Regions from separate parts of the Homo sapiens genome. Here regions 2 and 3 are each linked to region 1. The links are contacts of gene promoters, found by promoter capture Hi-C in human tissues and cell types (Jung and others, 2019). All regions are on one chromosome and are shown on one strand. Each heading gives the region's core, a stretch centred on a gene start or on the middle of the fragment in contact. The rest is flanking DNA. Distances are from core to core; before and after follow the strand shown. Region 1 holds the start of NKX3-2 (NK3 homeobox 2). Region 2 overlaps LOC105374493 (a long non-coding RNA gene). Region 3 has its middle 500 kb from the start of RAB28.

Evidence for each region. Contacts are between HindIII fragments. The study calls those that stand out against the background at their distance.
Region 2: a fragment that was not itself captured here is called in contact with the fragment with the promoter of NKX3-2 in region 1 in 2 of the 25 tissues and cell types used here (H1 embryonic stem cells and lymphoblastoid cells).
Region 3: a fragment that was not itself captured here is called in contact with the fragment with the promoter of NKX3-2 in region 1 in 1 of the 25 tissues and cell types used here (lymphoblastoid cells).

What each region holds. Positions count from the first base shown.
Region 1 is chr4:13,541,469-13,546,536 of GRCh38, reverse strand. It overlaps NKX3-2 (NK3 homeobox 2), which reads left to right and starts at 2,029. Exons shown (of 2, transcript NM_001189.4): 1 at 2,029-2,588; 2 at 4,009-5,068. The coding sequence starts at 2,123. The coding sequence ends at 4,544. LINC01096 (long intergenic non-protein coding RNA 1096) reads left to right here. Exons shown (of 1, transcript NR_015450.1): 1 at 1-461. RefSeq lists a silencer at 4,104-4,233. The HindIII fragment of the contact is 14,287 bases long and covers 1-4,976 here.
Region 2 is chr4:12,960,348-12,965,415 of GRCh38, reverse strand. LOC105374493 (a long non-coding RNA gene) reads left to right here. Exons shown (of 3, transcript XR_007058047.1): 1 at 1-1,740. Among named protein-coding and RNA genes, the nearest start is that of RAB28, 520 kb to the left of the region's middle. The HindIII fragment of the contact is 4,471 bases long and covers 1-4,218 here.
Region 3 is chr4:12,979,642-12,984,709 of GRCh38, reverse strand. No RefSeq gene overlaps it. Among named protein-coding and RNA genes, the nearest start is that of RAB28, 500 kb to the left of the region's middle. The HindIII fragment of the contact is 7,964 bases long and covers 1-5,068 here.

The sequences.
Region 1 (5,068 bases), core at 780-3,279:
CAACATCCCTGCCCGAAGTGAGGAGAACGGTAATTTAAATAATACAGCGGGGGAGGAGAGGACACACTGTTTTTGAAAGACTGTAAGCATTCTGCTGTTCCACTCTGCGTCCTTACACTTGCTGAGCACTGACACCAAATTTAAATGGCGTTCCTTCAAAACTGATGTAATTGTAAAGAGCTGTAAAGGGCAATGACCTCAAGTGGATGTTTTTTCCCAGGTACCCTACAAGGTTTGCACAAAGCAAGAAAGCATCATGTAACCGAAATGCTGAAAAGTATAGATGCTGCAAAACCTCATTCTGAGACTGAGAACTATGAATAGTCAGTGTATTTCCTTCTGCGGTGCAGAAAAAGAACAACCAAAAAGAAAGCAACAAGGGGAGATGTTATTTATTTTAATGACACCAAAACTACCAATCCTAGCAATTTAATAAATTAAAATCATAGTCCTTTAAATGTATTTAATGGTTCAAGTTTGTGTATTTGGTGTTAACTCTCTGGTAAAGTTTATGGAAAACAGTGAAGTACGTTAATTGAGCAAATTTTATATTAAAAAAGGAATAACACATTTTAAAATGTTTTTATATACCCACAATATTTGTGTTTCTTAGCTTGGTTCCTACTATTACATAATACAATGCATTTCTTATTTTTTAAAGAGCAAAAAGTGTTGTCACTTCTGGATCACTTTATGGTAATTCCTAGGTATACTTCTAAGCAAACAAACATATCTATTTATAATTTTATTCAACTCACAAGTAAGAGATATTTAAAAAAAACAAATTGAAAGTTTTTTTTTTCTTCCTGATGCAAAACTTAACAAACTCCAATTAAATTCAATATTGGTCTGCCAGGGAAACGACCATAAAATTTACAGAAATTCTCCCAAAGATGCCTTTCAATTCTTCTCCTGACTTTAGTTCTAACTATACCATTTTTTTATAATTCCTCTATAAAAATCGAATCAAATCAAAGACGACGAGGAAAGAAAAATATTTCTAGAGTGATCTTAATTAACTGATCATTTCAGCAAAGAGCATTAGCAATGAAGAAGCGGCGAAACTGTAGGGAGAAAAAAAAGGATGCATTTTGTTCTTCGTGTTTATAATCCTTCCTAGAGAACAGAAACTACGAGCATGATTTATGGAACTGCATTATCTTGGATTTTCTCCGCAGATTTGACTCAACTTAGTATCAGTGTTCTGTTAAAGCGCTGGAATAAGTGGATACATCTGCAGAGGTAAGAAACGTGGTTTGGGTCGGATGAGCCTCCTTGTTGCTGGAGGGTGCTTCGAGGACCAGGCTTAGGAGAGAAGGGGTTAAGTCAGACCCTGTCTTTAGCGGCGCAACGTGCCCAGTTTTGTCTGTTAAAGTCAACGTCGCCCAACTGGAGCCAGCCAATGGACGGCCGGGAGCGCCCGGGACAGCCCAGTGGAGGGGTGTGGCCTCAGGCTGTCACTCAGCAGTGAGGAATGACACCCGGGCGGGAGGGGGGTGGTACAGTGGAACGCAAGGGAAGGAAAGAGAAAAGAAACAGATAAAACCAGGGCAGGGGGTAAAAAAGTTCCCCGCGCCTCTCGGAATCCAGCGGCCGCGGCCGCGGCTACCGCCGCCGCCGCCGGGGGTGGGCTCCGGAAGAGCCTGCCCAGCAGGGAAGGGGAGGACGGGCCAGGAGCGAAATCCTGCAGGCGAGGAAGGGACAGACGCGCAAAGAAAAAGTGACTCGGGCTGTGCGCCCCGGCGGCGCTCGGGAGGGGACTGCTGCCACGGAGGGGCCCCCGCCAATCCTCCTTCACGTCCCCCGAGGGGGCAGACCCCAGCCCGCCCCTAAGGGCGAGAAGCGATGAGATAATCCAGCTGAGCTGCGAAAGGAGAGCGTCTGGCTCTGGATTCGGGGGGAGGGGGTCTCCGGGCGGGGTGGGCCTCTAAGGTGGGGGCGAGGGTCGGCGCTGATCCTGGGACGGAGTGGGGCGGGAGCTGCTGGGCCGCGCAGCAGTGGGCGGCGGCGGCCTCGCACACCCAGCTCACTCGCGCTGCGGCCGCCGGCGCTCTCTGTCCCGCTCGGAGCTGCTCGGCGCCCCAGCTGCCCGCCCCGCCGGCCGCTCCTGCCCGCGGCGCAGATGGCTGTGCGCGGCGCCAACACCTTGACGTCCTTCTCCATCCAGGCGATCCTCAACAAGAAAGAGGAGCGCGGCGGGCTGGCCGCGCCAGAGGGGCGCCCGGCGCCCGGGGGCACAGCGGCATCGGTGGCCGCGGCTCCCGCTGTCTGCTGTTGGCGGCTCTTTGGGGAGAGGGACGCGGGCGCGTTGGGGGGCGCCGAGGACTCTCTGCTGGCGTCTCCTGCCGGTACCAGAACAGCTGCGGGGCGGACTGCGGAGAGCCCGGAAGGCTGGGACTCGGACTCCGCGCTCAGCGAGGAGAACGAGAGCAGGCGGCGCTGCGCGGACGCGCGGGGGGCCAGCGGGGCCGGCCTTGCGGGGGGATCCTTGAGCCTCGGCCAGCCGGTCTGTGAGCTGGCCGCTTCCAAAGACCTAGAGGAGGAAGCCGCGGGCCGGAGCGACAGCGAGATGTCCGCCAGCGTCTCAGGTCTGCTGCGGCTTCGCGGGGATGGGGGCCGGGCTGAGGGGATGGACGCGGAGGGCAACCACGCCGAGTGGGGTGGTCGGCTTGAGCACCCTGCGCCCTGGGGCTCGGAGGCTGGCCAAATCCCGAAGTTCTGCGCTCTGGCGCGAGCTGCTCTATCACTTCGGGAACTGAGCCCGCGAGAGACCGGAGTAGCTCCTCAGAGCCCTACGTCCTGGGGTGAGGCCTGAGACATCCTGGGCCAATGTGCATTAGACTGGGTTGGGAGAACCGCTGCCCCTTGCGTTCGGGAGTTTTTGAGTTCGTCGCCAGTGCTTTCTGCCGTGTCTGTCCCCAAATCCCCAAAATCAGGGAAGCGGAAAAGTGAGGGGTTCAGAGACCTCAGGTAGCCAGTGACCTAGCTCTGGACCAGAGACCTGCCAGTTCAAGGTCCCAGGGCCGGGCCCCACAGTAGGTGGATAGGTGGTGAAGAACACCTCCGAGTGGGCCAGAGCTGAGAATCTGCAGAACTAGAGCTTTGGGGAAAGGGCTGGTTTGGCTTTCTCAGACCCCAGGTCTGGGAGAGCAGCCCTAGGCCGAAGATCCCGGATTGGGTCTTTAGTTCATCCTGGAGGCAGGAGAGAGGCCTCCTCAGCCGTGGCCTGTCCTGTCCTGTGGTCTGGAAGACCCGGGTGCCTGCCCTAGTTGGGTACAAGCTTCTGTAGGCCTCAAGCACAGGGGACCGCTGGACCTTTCTGCTGGAGTTCTTCGGAAGGGCGGGTACGAGACCGAGAAGCTGGTGTGGGATCAGGGTCCAAAAACTCGATGCAGGGGCAACCCTCCCTCTTTACTCTCCAGTCCATCCTCTCATCTAAGGCCTCGGCTCAGCCTGTTTCCATGTCTCTCACAGCAATCCCAGGCGGCTGAGGGTGAAAGATTCTAAATACCTTTGGCCCCAGGATCCGCCTCCACCTTCCCTTACCTGCACCAGACAAGTGTGTGCTGCGAGGACGCGCGCGTGTGTGCGTGTGAACTAAGTGTGGAGAGGCGCGTGAACCCAAGCAGAGAGACGGAAATGCAGTCTAGAATCCCAATGCTCAACGCTGAGAGCCGGGAGGGCTTTCGCGGATGCTCGGGTCGAGTGCCCCAAGTTACTGAGGGGAGCCTGGGGCCCAGAGAGGGTGGGGAGCTGGTCTCGACAACACAGCGTTGACACAGCGGCTGAGTCTGCCGCCCTCCCCAGAAGAGGCCTAGATGGGATACCCAGTGGGGCAAGAGTCTAAGACTGGTCTCCCGGGCCCAGGGCCTCCCAGACCTCCGCTCCGCTTGAGTGGGATCAAAGTGTATTTCCGCCCCACTCCCGTGACCCCTGCAGTTGAGGCCCGGCCTCACCTCGTCTGTGGCGCTGACAGTCTCTTGTTTCTGTTCCCACCGGGGTCCGCAGGCGACCGCAGCCCAAGGACCGAGGACGACGGTGTTGGCCCCAGAGGTGCACACGTGTCCGCGCTGTGCAGCGGGGCCGGCGGCGGGGGCGGCAGCGGGCCGGCAGGCGTCGCGGAGGAGGAGGAGGAGCCGGCGGCGCCCAAGCCACGCAAGAAGCGCTCGCGGGCCGCTTTCTCCCACGCGCAGGTCTTCGAGCTGGAGCGCCGCTTTAACCACCAGCGCTACCTGTCCGGGCCCGAGCGCGCAGACCTGGCCGCGTCGCTGAAGCTCACCGAGACGCAGGTGAAAATCTGGTTCCAGAACCGTCGCTACAAGACAAAGCGCCGGCAGATGGCAGCCGACCTGCTGGCCTCGGCGCCCGCCGCCAAGAAGGTGGCCGTAAAGGTGCTGGTGCGCGACGACCAGAGACAATACCTGCCCGGCGAAGTGCTGCGGCCACCCTCGCTTCTGCCACTGCAGCCCTCCTACTATTACCCGTACTACTGCCTCCCAGGCTGGGCGCTCTCCACCTGCGCAGCTGCCGCAGGCACCCAGTGAACCCGCTTGGGCTGAGGCAGCGAGTGATTCCCGCGCTCCGGCTCCGGACCGGCGCTGACAGCTGTAGGCTGTAGCCTGCACGGGGCGCCCCGCCAAGGAGGCACCTGGAGGTGAAACCCAGCTCCAGCTCCCGTTAGCCAGGACTTGTCCCCTGGCAGCTGGGCTGAGTCTGCCCTGAGGGGGCGCCTTTTTCTAATTTGAACAGAGGCACCCTATGGCCTAGGGGCCCTGATCGCCCACCTGCCTGGAAGCCCCTGGGCTCTATTTATTATCATGACAATGTTGGAATTAAATTTTGATTCGAATATGTCTGCCTGGGGGTGGGGTTTTCCCTGAGCGGCAACTCCTGGAGACCACATAGCCTGAATCCTCAGAATTTCAGGCCTGCTGGGAGCTTTCTGCACTAGGCCACACTAGTTCATGGTATCCATGCTACCAATCTATGTGTATCTACATATCTTTTATTTTTGGAAATTGCATTTGTAACCAAGGGGTGCGAAACCCTGGCAGTCCCAGGCAGCACC
Region 2 (5,068 bases), core at 734-3,233, 580 kb after region 1:
TGGAAACCACCATAAAGATACTTGCCCATGATTTTCCTTTCTCCCTCTGCTTTGACCCTGAGTGGCATGTAGTACTCTTACCCAAATCCTGTAATGTACACAGGAAGAGTAGTCAAGAGATCACAACCTTCTTTTTAAACTTATCATCACTGGCCTGAATCCTTGATTCATTTTTCTTGTGTTGTCTGCCATATTACAAACTCCTTTGGGCAGAGACTTTATTATTTATCTTTATGCTCTGGGACCTCACAGAGCCTGGCATACAGTACATGTTCAATAAATATCAAATAGTAATAAGGTAATAGAATAAGCGAATAAATGAATACCACGAAATGGCACTATTTTTTTGGTCTTGTCTTTTTGAGAGTTGCCTTTTATCCAATTCTGCACCATGTTGATTGTCTCAAATACATGAAATTTAATATAATACACTCTTTTTTTCAAGTTTAAATCATTTCCACAAGACCAGTAATTACTTTGTAAGAATAATGCCCAAATATTCTGACCTTTCCTCTCTATTCTGAAAGTGAAAATTATCAGTGAATGAATTAAGAATTCATTGCATGCTTTTCTCTTAAATGAATGAGATTTCTAGCAGATGTTTGAACTGTTAACAGTTTTTGCCACGACCCTATCAAACCTGACTGCAAGAAGCCTCTGAGAAATTTCTCACCCATTTCTTTTCTCTGGCTGGGGGTTGCAGTATGCTCTCACAGTTTTTCACTTCACTGTGGCTTGTATCTTTCCAACATAATTTTATGTCCAACAATGACATGAACTTCCTTGGAAGTACTGATGTCTATTGCTGGATGTCTGAAGCAGCAGTGGTTCACTTCTATCAGGATAACTTTCATCAGCAGGCAGATTAAAATAACACTTTTAAAATGTTTTTTTTTTTCTATATATAAAACTTAAGCAATTCTCCACACTTTGAGGGAGGATGAACTGTTCTCAAAATGCTGTTAGTCAGAAGCTGAATAAGACCCCATACTGGCATCAGGAAAATATTTAAATGATTCCCTTCTAGTTATTTTAGCAATAATGGAATTCAGCTCAGGAAGTTTATGTTAAATGTAATCTCACTGGAGTTTTCAGTGAGCTTTTCACCTTGCCTGATGGATGATAAAGAGTCAAGGCCTCTTTCAGCGGAACTGTACTCTTTTTTTATTACCCTCTCTCCTATTCTGACTAAAGAGCACATTTGATATAAATGGAGAGTTTCATTTAAACAGATCACAATCCAATTTGAATTCTTCTTATCAGATTGGACTACTCAAAAATGGTGCAGCAAGAGATTCAAACCTTGCTTGCTCACAAGGTTAATATTTACAAATATTGACTTCTGTTGAGCCCTTTGGAACTTAAAAAATAGTCTCTTGATTTCTCAGTGATAACACAGGAGGGATTTTTGTTTTGTTTTTTTAGTTGGGCAGTGCACAATTTTATATTTTTACTCTGAAAGCTGGTTTGCAAGGAGGTGCATAAATATTATTTATCAAATTACTAGCATTTTTTGCAATGCAACTTATGTTTTTATAATGACACCAGATTAAGAAGAGTGAAAGAATTGAGCTGCAAATCTAAGCTTTGCACTCCCAATCTTATGTTGGAATAATAAATTCAGTTCAGCCATAACTTACTGAATATGTCTAATATTTCTGAAAATGTCTGAGATATTACTGGATAGGTCATAGAAGAAATATGGAGAAATGGAAACTAGAATGATCTGTGTGATTCTAGGTAAGTCTTATAATCTTGCTGTTCCTTCTTTTTTCTCTGTCAGATTCAGAGAACAATTTCTGCCTTGTTAGTTCTATAAAGTTAAAGTAAAGCTCACATATGACAGTGAATGTGGAAGTGACATGCAATTTGGAAAATAAATCAGGCTTATTCACTCTGAAGTTGAGAGAGACTTGGAAGCAGGATCTGACTCAAAGTAATATTTGTACTCAAACTGACTAGTCAACAATAAGGTATCTTTCATTTGATAATCAGCCTCAGGGAATGTGCAAATCCATACCATTGCTTGGACCTTTTCTCTTCCATTTCCTATTTAATAAATTTCCATCTTGGGTCACATTATTTTGGGAAAGTTAACTAATCAAGTAAACTTATTTAAGGTGAAGTGTTAATGCATGGTAGTGATTGAATGCTATGTATTTTCATCTGTACACAGGGATGGCAAAGCTTCAGAAAAGCTACACACACACACACACACACACACACACACACACATCCATAGATGTCCATACATATACACATATTTAATTTAATTCATAGATATTGAAAAATAAAATTCTTATATTAAAATCAATATGGACAAATTTTAAATTATGTCAATAATTTAAAAAACAAATTCACATGAAATTTTAAGATTTAAAAAAAAACTTTAAATGAATTGCATGCTTTTTGTAGGATGCTATGGTTGTGTTTCCACAACTTCCAAGGGCACAAGTAACTTTTTTCTGTCATTAGACTTCAAGGAAAATGTTTTACAAATACTGGCTTAAGAATTGACTCCTTAAAAATAATCTATTTATAGAGAGGGAATCCTAGAAGCCTCATCTTCATAAGTGATGACTCATACAAAGTTTAGTGGCAAGACGCAGGTATTTTAGAATATGCATACAACTTATAGAGAAACAGAGATGCAGAAACAGACAGTGAGAACTCAAAAGAGAAATGGAGAGGGGAGCTAGGAGAGAGAACTTTCAGATCCATTCAAACCATATTAATCTGGAAAATCATTTGACTATTTTTTTTTGTTTTTTTTTTGTGTGTGTTTTTGCCCAGACTTTCTAGAATGAAATTAACCAAGACTGAGCTCTTTCCAGAGTAGATTTCATCATTTTTGTATAGGAGAGGCTTGGTGGGATAAATCTGTTGAAACGGGTGCTTTAAGCTGAGGGTACATGCTGTGAATATATGTCTACTGTTCACAAAATGAAATGGAGAGATGGCAGGATGAAGGGGAAGGGAGATGATGATGGGGATATTTAAAGTCTTTTAGCGCTTTGTCTCTCTTTGGGCTATTTTGAAGCTCTTGTATATTTTGACACTTTGGATATCTCTGGAAGGTAGAATGGTGAGTCGGGGGATGCAGACCTCGCTTGCTCACAAAAACCACCTGGTGTGATTGTTTAAATTTCACAAACTTAACCCAGACTTATCCAGATGAGATCTCTTAGACAGAGGCCTGAAAATGTATATTTTTATTAAGTGCTTCAGGTTATTTTTTGAATCAGAAACACATAGGAAATACTGGTTTAGTAGAAAAAGATAGAGGTTTGGAGCCAGACAGACCAAATAAAAATCTCAGCCACTTAGTAGCTATGTGACTTTAACTAAAGCAGTTTATATTTCTCTAGAATGAAAATTATAAATCCCTTTCTTATAGGATTGAATCAAGTCACAGAAAAGCATCCTGCGGGCAACCCCTGACATAAAGTAGACATTCAATACACACTTGTTTTCCTTTCACTCTTCCGGGAACCTGATGTTTGTTTTTCTGTTTTCCTTTCTGTGCTGGCTGCTTAGCACTGCTCCATCACTCATGGGAAGACCCTGACCTTTCTCTTCAGTGAACATGGATGAAGTTCAGGCAGCATCAGCATGCACAATGAGTGAAGCAGAGATTCCCTGAATTCAGTAGAATTTTATCTTAGACAAATGTCTACACTTATTTTGTGTTTTGTATACTATCTTTGCTGGGGTTGTTTCAAAAATTAGAAAATATTTTAGTATTAAAATCTCAAATAGATCTCCCCAAATAAAACAAATTAAAAAACCTCAACCCAAAAGATAAACCTCTACCCATGCCAAGCACATCTTATTTCCTCATTATTTTACAAAAGATTCAAACTGCAAGATGATAAATAATGGCCACTAGAAAGAAATGCAGCAAGAGGGATGAATATTTACATAGTAATAAAGTGGATATCATTGTTCCATTGACAAGGTGATTTTTTTAAATGGAGAGATCAGTTGTGCATTCAACACACACTTCAGAAACACCTATTCAATATCACTGTGTAGCAGGCACTGCTGAATACTAGGAATAAACACAGTTTCTCACTTCAAGGATTTTACAAATGTAAAGGTAAATATATGATAGGAATATATTATATTGGTGATGTGAGTAGTTTTAACAAGTCTTTATTTCCATAGGTTCGTACTAACTCAAGAGTTTAGATTCCAGATAAGTTTGGAATCTAAAGCCTTTTGCATAGATATGCTGCCATTATAATCAATATCATTTCATTCCTCTCAATCAAACCAAGTTATATACACATTATTAGTGTTCTACAAAAAATGCATAAAAGTTCTCAACTCACTTTGCCAATACGTTTTACATAGCAGCCGCTGTTATTAACTCACTACTCTCTGCCAACCCTTATTAAATACTTGTTCATAAATAGATTGCAAAGGTCTTCTATACCCCAAGGTAAAAGAGGGAATTAACATTTATTGAACATCAACTAGGTGCCAAGTTTATTACACTTATTTTCCATCCTCAAGGCTATAGCAAGTTGTCTTCTAAGGACTTGGGAACAAGGAACACAAGATTACCTTCTGAAGGCTCAACTACAAAGTCAGCACATGATGGAGGAAATTAGCCCTAAAAGAACCAATCTAAAATAACAGGGTGGAAATGCCTCAAGAGGTTAGTCAATCTTGAGGTAGCTCTGGACCTAACAAAGACTAGGCTACACCTGCCCAATAAGGTTGAATCACAGGCAATGATACTAATAAACTCTAGGAGAGAAAACATACCATCTGAGGTTGGTCTGAATATGTGTAGTTAGTACATCCAAGAGAATGTAAATAAGGACCTGGCCAATTTGTTCTAGCACTGCCTGGAAGACAGGGAATCTTGGTCAACCAGAAGTTGTGTAGGTCATTCTTAAATTGCCAAAGTCCCAAAGTCATTCCCATTTTATAAACATATAGAAGATATCTCAGAGGATACCTTTTCCCAAGATTATTACATTTCTATGATTCTGACTTTCTACTTACCTAAGTAAAATTCTGATTAGGACTTAGCTTCCTAAGGAGAGTGATGGCAGAA
Region 3 (5,068 bases), core at 1,159-3,658, 560 kb after region 1:
CTAATATCCAGAATCTACAAAAAACATAAACAAATTTACAAAAAAAAAAACAACCCCATCAAAAAGTGGGCAAAGGATATGAACAGACACTTCTCGAAGACATTTATGCAGCCAACAAGCATATGAAATCTTTATACACCATGGAATACTATGCAGCCATAAAAAAGGATTAGTTCATGTCCTTTGCAGGGACATGGATGAAACTGAAAACCATCATTCTCAGCAAACTAACACAGGAATAGGAAACCAAACACCTCATGTTCTCACTCATAAGTGGGAGTTGAATAATGAGAACACATTGACACAGGGAGGAGAACATCACACACCGGGTCCTGTCAGGGGGTTGGGGCAAGGGGAGGGTAGCATTAGGAAAAATACCTAATGCATGCAGGGCTTAAAACCTAGCTAATGGGTTGATGGATGCAGCAAACCACTGTGGCACATGTATATCTATGTAACAAACATGCACATTCTGCACATATATCCCAGAACTTAAAGTATTAAAAAAAAAACTGAGATAAGAATGTCTTTTGTATGCTAACAAGATAACTCATGGTGGGAGGCCCTAGACAGCTTTGGATGGGGATTGATTGCCAGGAAAATCAACCATGTGATTAGACGGTTAGGACTTTCAGCCCTACTCCCCAAATGAGGGACTGGAGATTGAGTTTAATCAACAATAGTAATGATTTAATCAATCCTACCCACTTTAATGAAACCTTTATGAAAACAACAGAGTTCAAGGGCTTTCTGGTTGTTGATATACTGGGAGGGTAACTCTCCCTGATTCTGCAGGGACAGATGTTCTTGCACTCAGAACCCTTCTGAACCATGACTCCTGTGCCTCTTTATCTTAGCTGTTCATGTGTGTCCTTCAAAATAAATGGTAATAGTAAGTAAAGCACTTTTCTGAGTTGTGTAAGTTGTTCTAGAGAATGGTAAAACTTGAGGGTGCATTGCAGACACTCACAAATTTGTAGTTGATTGAGCAGAAGTGTGGGTAACCTGGGGACATCACTTGCACCTGGCTCTGAAGTAGGGACAGTCTTGTGAGACCGAGTCCTTAACTTGTGGGGTCTGTGCTAACTTTGGGTAGTTAGTGTCAGAATTAAATTTGATGATACAATACCCAACTGGTGTGGGAGAATTGAATTGGTTGGATCTGCGAAAAGAAAACACAGTTATATAGAGCCGAAAGTTAGCCTGAGCTCTTCTCTTAATATTCTGTGGAACTAACACACTAGGAGCCTTAACTTTTCCCTAAAACATCTATCCATTTTCCCCAAAAGCAAAGCTCATCTTATTTGGTGTCAGTGGTAGGCAGAATAATGGTCTCCCAAAGATGGCTGCTTTCTAATCTCTTGTGAATATGTCATGTTGCATGGGGCAAGGTGGAAATTAAGGGTGCAGACAGAATTGAGATTGCTAATCTGCTGACCTTGAGATAGGGAGATTTTCCTGGGGTATCCTGGTGGGCCCAGTATAATCACAAGTATCCCTACATGTGAAAAAGAGAGGTAGGAAAGTCAGTGTTGATGCCTGTATTAGTCTGTAGATATACCTGAGACTAGGCAAGTTACAAAAGAAAGAGGTTTAATGGACTTACAGTTTCATGTGGCTGGGGAAGCCTCACAATCATGGTGAAAGGAAAGGAGGAGCAAGTCATGTCTTACATGGATGGCAGTAGGCGAAGAGAGAGCCTGTGCAGTGAAACTCCCATTTTTAAAACCATCAGATCTCATGAGACTTATTCACTATCGCGAGAACATCATGGGAAAGTTCCACACCCATGATTCAGTTATCTCCCACTGGTTCCCTCCCATAACACATGGAAATTATGGGAGCTACAAGATGAGATTTGGATGGGGACACAGAGCCAAACCATGTCAATGCCCAAGAGAGATTTCAAATTGTTACACTGTTGGCTTTGAAGATTTAAGAAGGGACCATGAGGCAAGAAATGAGGGTGGTTTCTGGAAGCTGAGAAAAATTAGAAAACTGACATTCCCTTAAAGTTTCCAGAAGAAACACATACTTGTTGATACTTTAGTTTATTGAGGCTTATTTCAGACTTATGATCTCCAAAACTGTAAAATACATTCTTGTAGTTTTAAGGCCCTAAGTTCATGGTAATTTGTTATAGCAGTAGAAAACTAATAGAGTCTTCAATCAGTGTTTCACCCAGTTGAGTATTTGCTATGTATTTTTTAAAAATCTCCTTTCTTGGATGCTATGCTCCCATGTCTTTCTGTTTTCTTGCCTCATTTCTGATTCATCCTTCTTTGTCTTCAAAATTTCTTTCTCATAACCTGTAAAAGTTGAAGAATTTCATGATTGGGATAGAGACACTTTTGTATATTTCTGTGTCCTCTTCCTAGTTGATTTCACTGGTACTCTTGGTTTTAAGTATAATCTTTATGCGCTGGTAACTCCAGAAGTTTATTTTTAGTTGAGCCCTCAATACATGTACATTTATGGAATTGTGTATCCAATTGCTTACTTGATATCCTCACTTGGGTGTTTCACAGTTCTCCTAAATTTGACATTTGGATATTGGACTTATGATTTTCTTTTGAATCTTTTGATTCCTGCTTCAGTTAGTGTCTCACTTCATTTAGTGTTGCTCTAAAGGAATGCCTGAGGCTGAGTAATTTATAAGAAAAAGGAGGTTTATTTGGCTTATGGTTCTGCAGACTGTACAAGAAGCATGGCACCTGCATCTGTTTCTGGTGAGGCCTCTGTTTGCACTGATGGCAGAAGTTGAAGGGGAGCCTTTGCGTGCAGATATAACACTGTGGGGGAGGAAGCAAGAGAGCAAACAGGGAGATTCCAGGCTCTTTTTAACAACCAGCTATTGTAGGAACTAATAGAGCAATAATTCATTCATTAATGTAAGGATGGCATCAAGCCATTCATTTGAAATTTGCCCCGGTGGCCCACACATCTCCCACTGGGCCCACCTCCCAACACTGCTACACTGGGGATTACATTTCAACATCATATTTGGAATGATCAGTTATCCAAACCACAGAAGTCAGCTATGGCCATGGTAAGGCTTCATGATAAACTGCCCCCAAATTTAGTAACAGTACACATTTATTCTGACATACACAGGTCTGTAGAGGCTGAGTCATTGTGATTCTAGATATAGACCAATAGTCGAACCCACCTGTCCCCCAGGAAGTTTTCTTTTCCCAGGAAATGCCTTTGCCAATTACCTTGTTGCTCAAGCCAGAAATGAGGGTATTGATCTTCATTTGTCCTTCTCTCTCCGTCTTTGCATCCATTTGCTCTGTAAGTCCTTTATATTTGCCTCCAAAATAGATCTCAAATCTGCCTACTTATCCTGCACTCTCCACTTTACCAGTATATCCAAGCTACTGTAATATTTTCTTCTGGAGTACAGTTATCTTTACTCATTCTTTTTTCATCAGTAAATATTTATTGATAGAATGTCTTTTCAGTGCCACATAGAGTACTTTTCTTATTGATCCTAAGTAAGGCTTTGCCTTTATTCACCATCAGAACTTGCTAATTTCTTGGGACATCTTTGTTTTAAGAACCACAGAGATATTTTGAATAAAACTGATGCAACTCTTTGCCTTCATGGAGCTTATAATCTAGGGAGGGGAGCAAAATATTTTACCTGTGTTTCTTGTTTCCTCTTTTGCCTTCCACCATTCTATCTACCTCACTGAAGCCAGAGTAATTTTAATAGTGAGAGAAGAGTGTTGCTTAGATTCTTTAATGGCTTCATATTGGGGGTGAATCAATATCCAGATTCCTTTTCGGGGCCTACCAAGCCCCATGTGATCTCTGCTCAAGCAGCTCTCACCTGATCTCAGTCTCTTTCCATCTCATGTACTGTGTCCCAGCTACAATGAGCTCCTTTTCAATTTCTAGACTCCATCAAGCTCCCATCTAGCCTAGAGGGTAGCACATGCTAGTTTCCAGCTTAGAATACTATGTTCCTGGATCTTTCCAGATCTCTGCTTAAAGATTATCTTTTTGGTGGCTTTTCTAATGACCTTAATTAAGACTCAGACTTCTCATTTCTTAGAGTGCTTTGTTCACTAACCTTACAGTGCATGTCTGTGTGTGTGTATATATATATGTGTATATATATCTATATATATGTGTGTGTGTGTGTATATATATATATATATATATATATATATACACACATGTATTTACCTATTTAGTGGGTTTCTGCCAGCTATATTCTGCATGGGGTCTATGCTTGTTTTACTCACCCCTGTATACTTAATTCCTAGTACAGTGTCTGGCATAAAGCAGGCACACAAAGCATGCTTGTAGATTAAATATACACAGGAATGGTGGTGTTTCAGGTACTGGTGCAAAGTAGAGTGGGGAGATGTAAATATCATGGAGCTGGGCCTAAAGTCCCAGTGGTGCCGTCTTAGCAACCCTCAGACCACGGAATACAGGCTTACTAGTAAGCTTGGCCTCATTAAAAGAAATTATTTTGTAATTAGGCAAAAATAGGGTTGGGCAGGGTGAATGACTTGTTTAGGGTAATACAGGAAAATCGCTGCGGAGCTGGGTGAGAGCCAGCAGCCCAGGCCCATCCGCTGGAGGCCAGGTCCTCACATGTAGTTTCCATTATAGGCCCCACGGGATAACTCAGCATCCCAACCCCGCTGTGACCCACTCACCCACGAGGGGGGCCGAAAGCGGAAGGCTCACACCAGGCTTGAGGGTTTCCAGGCCACTTTGCTTATGACTTGGCTTATGGTTCCTGCTTCTCTTCTTTAATGCTCCTTGAGTTCCTGACCTTAAATCAAGCTCTCGGGCTTTTCTTCTGCTCAGAATGAGCTGGTGACTTTTAATTGTATTTTTCCACTCGAGGTCTTTGAAATCTGCATTGCTTTGCATTTGTGGGTTTAGCGTGACCTTTAATGTTCTCTTGGCAGATTTCTGTTATTGGAAGGGATGGGATTTTTGATTTGTTAGAAAGAATGGAGTCTAAGCTTTGGACTTCAGACCCTTAAGCTTTCTGTTTAAAACGAAGAGATGACTAATAACTATTTAGTATGTAATGATGGCT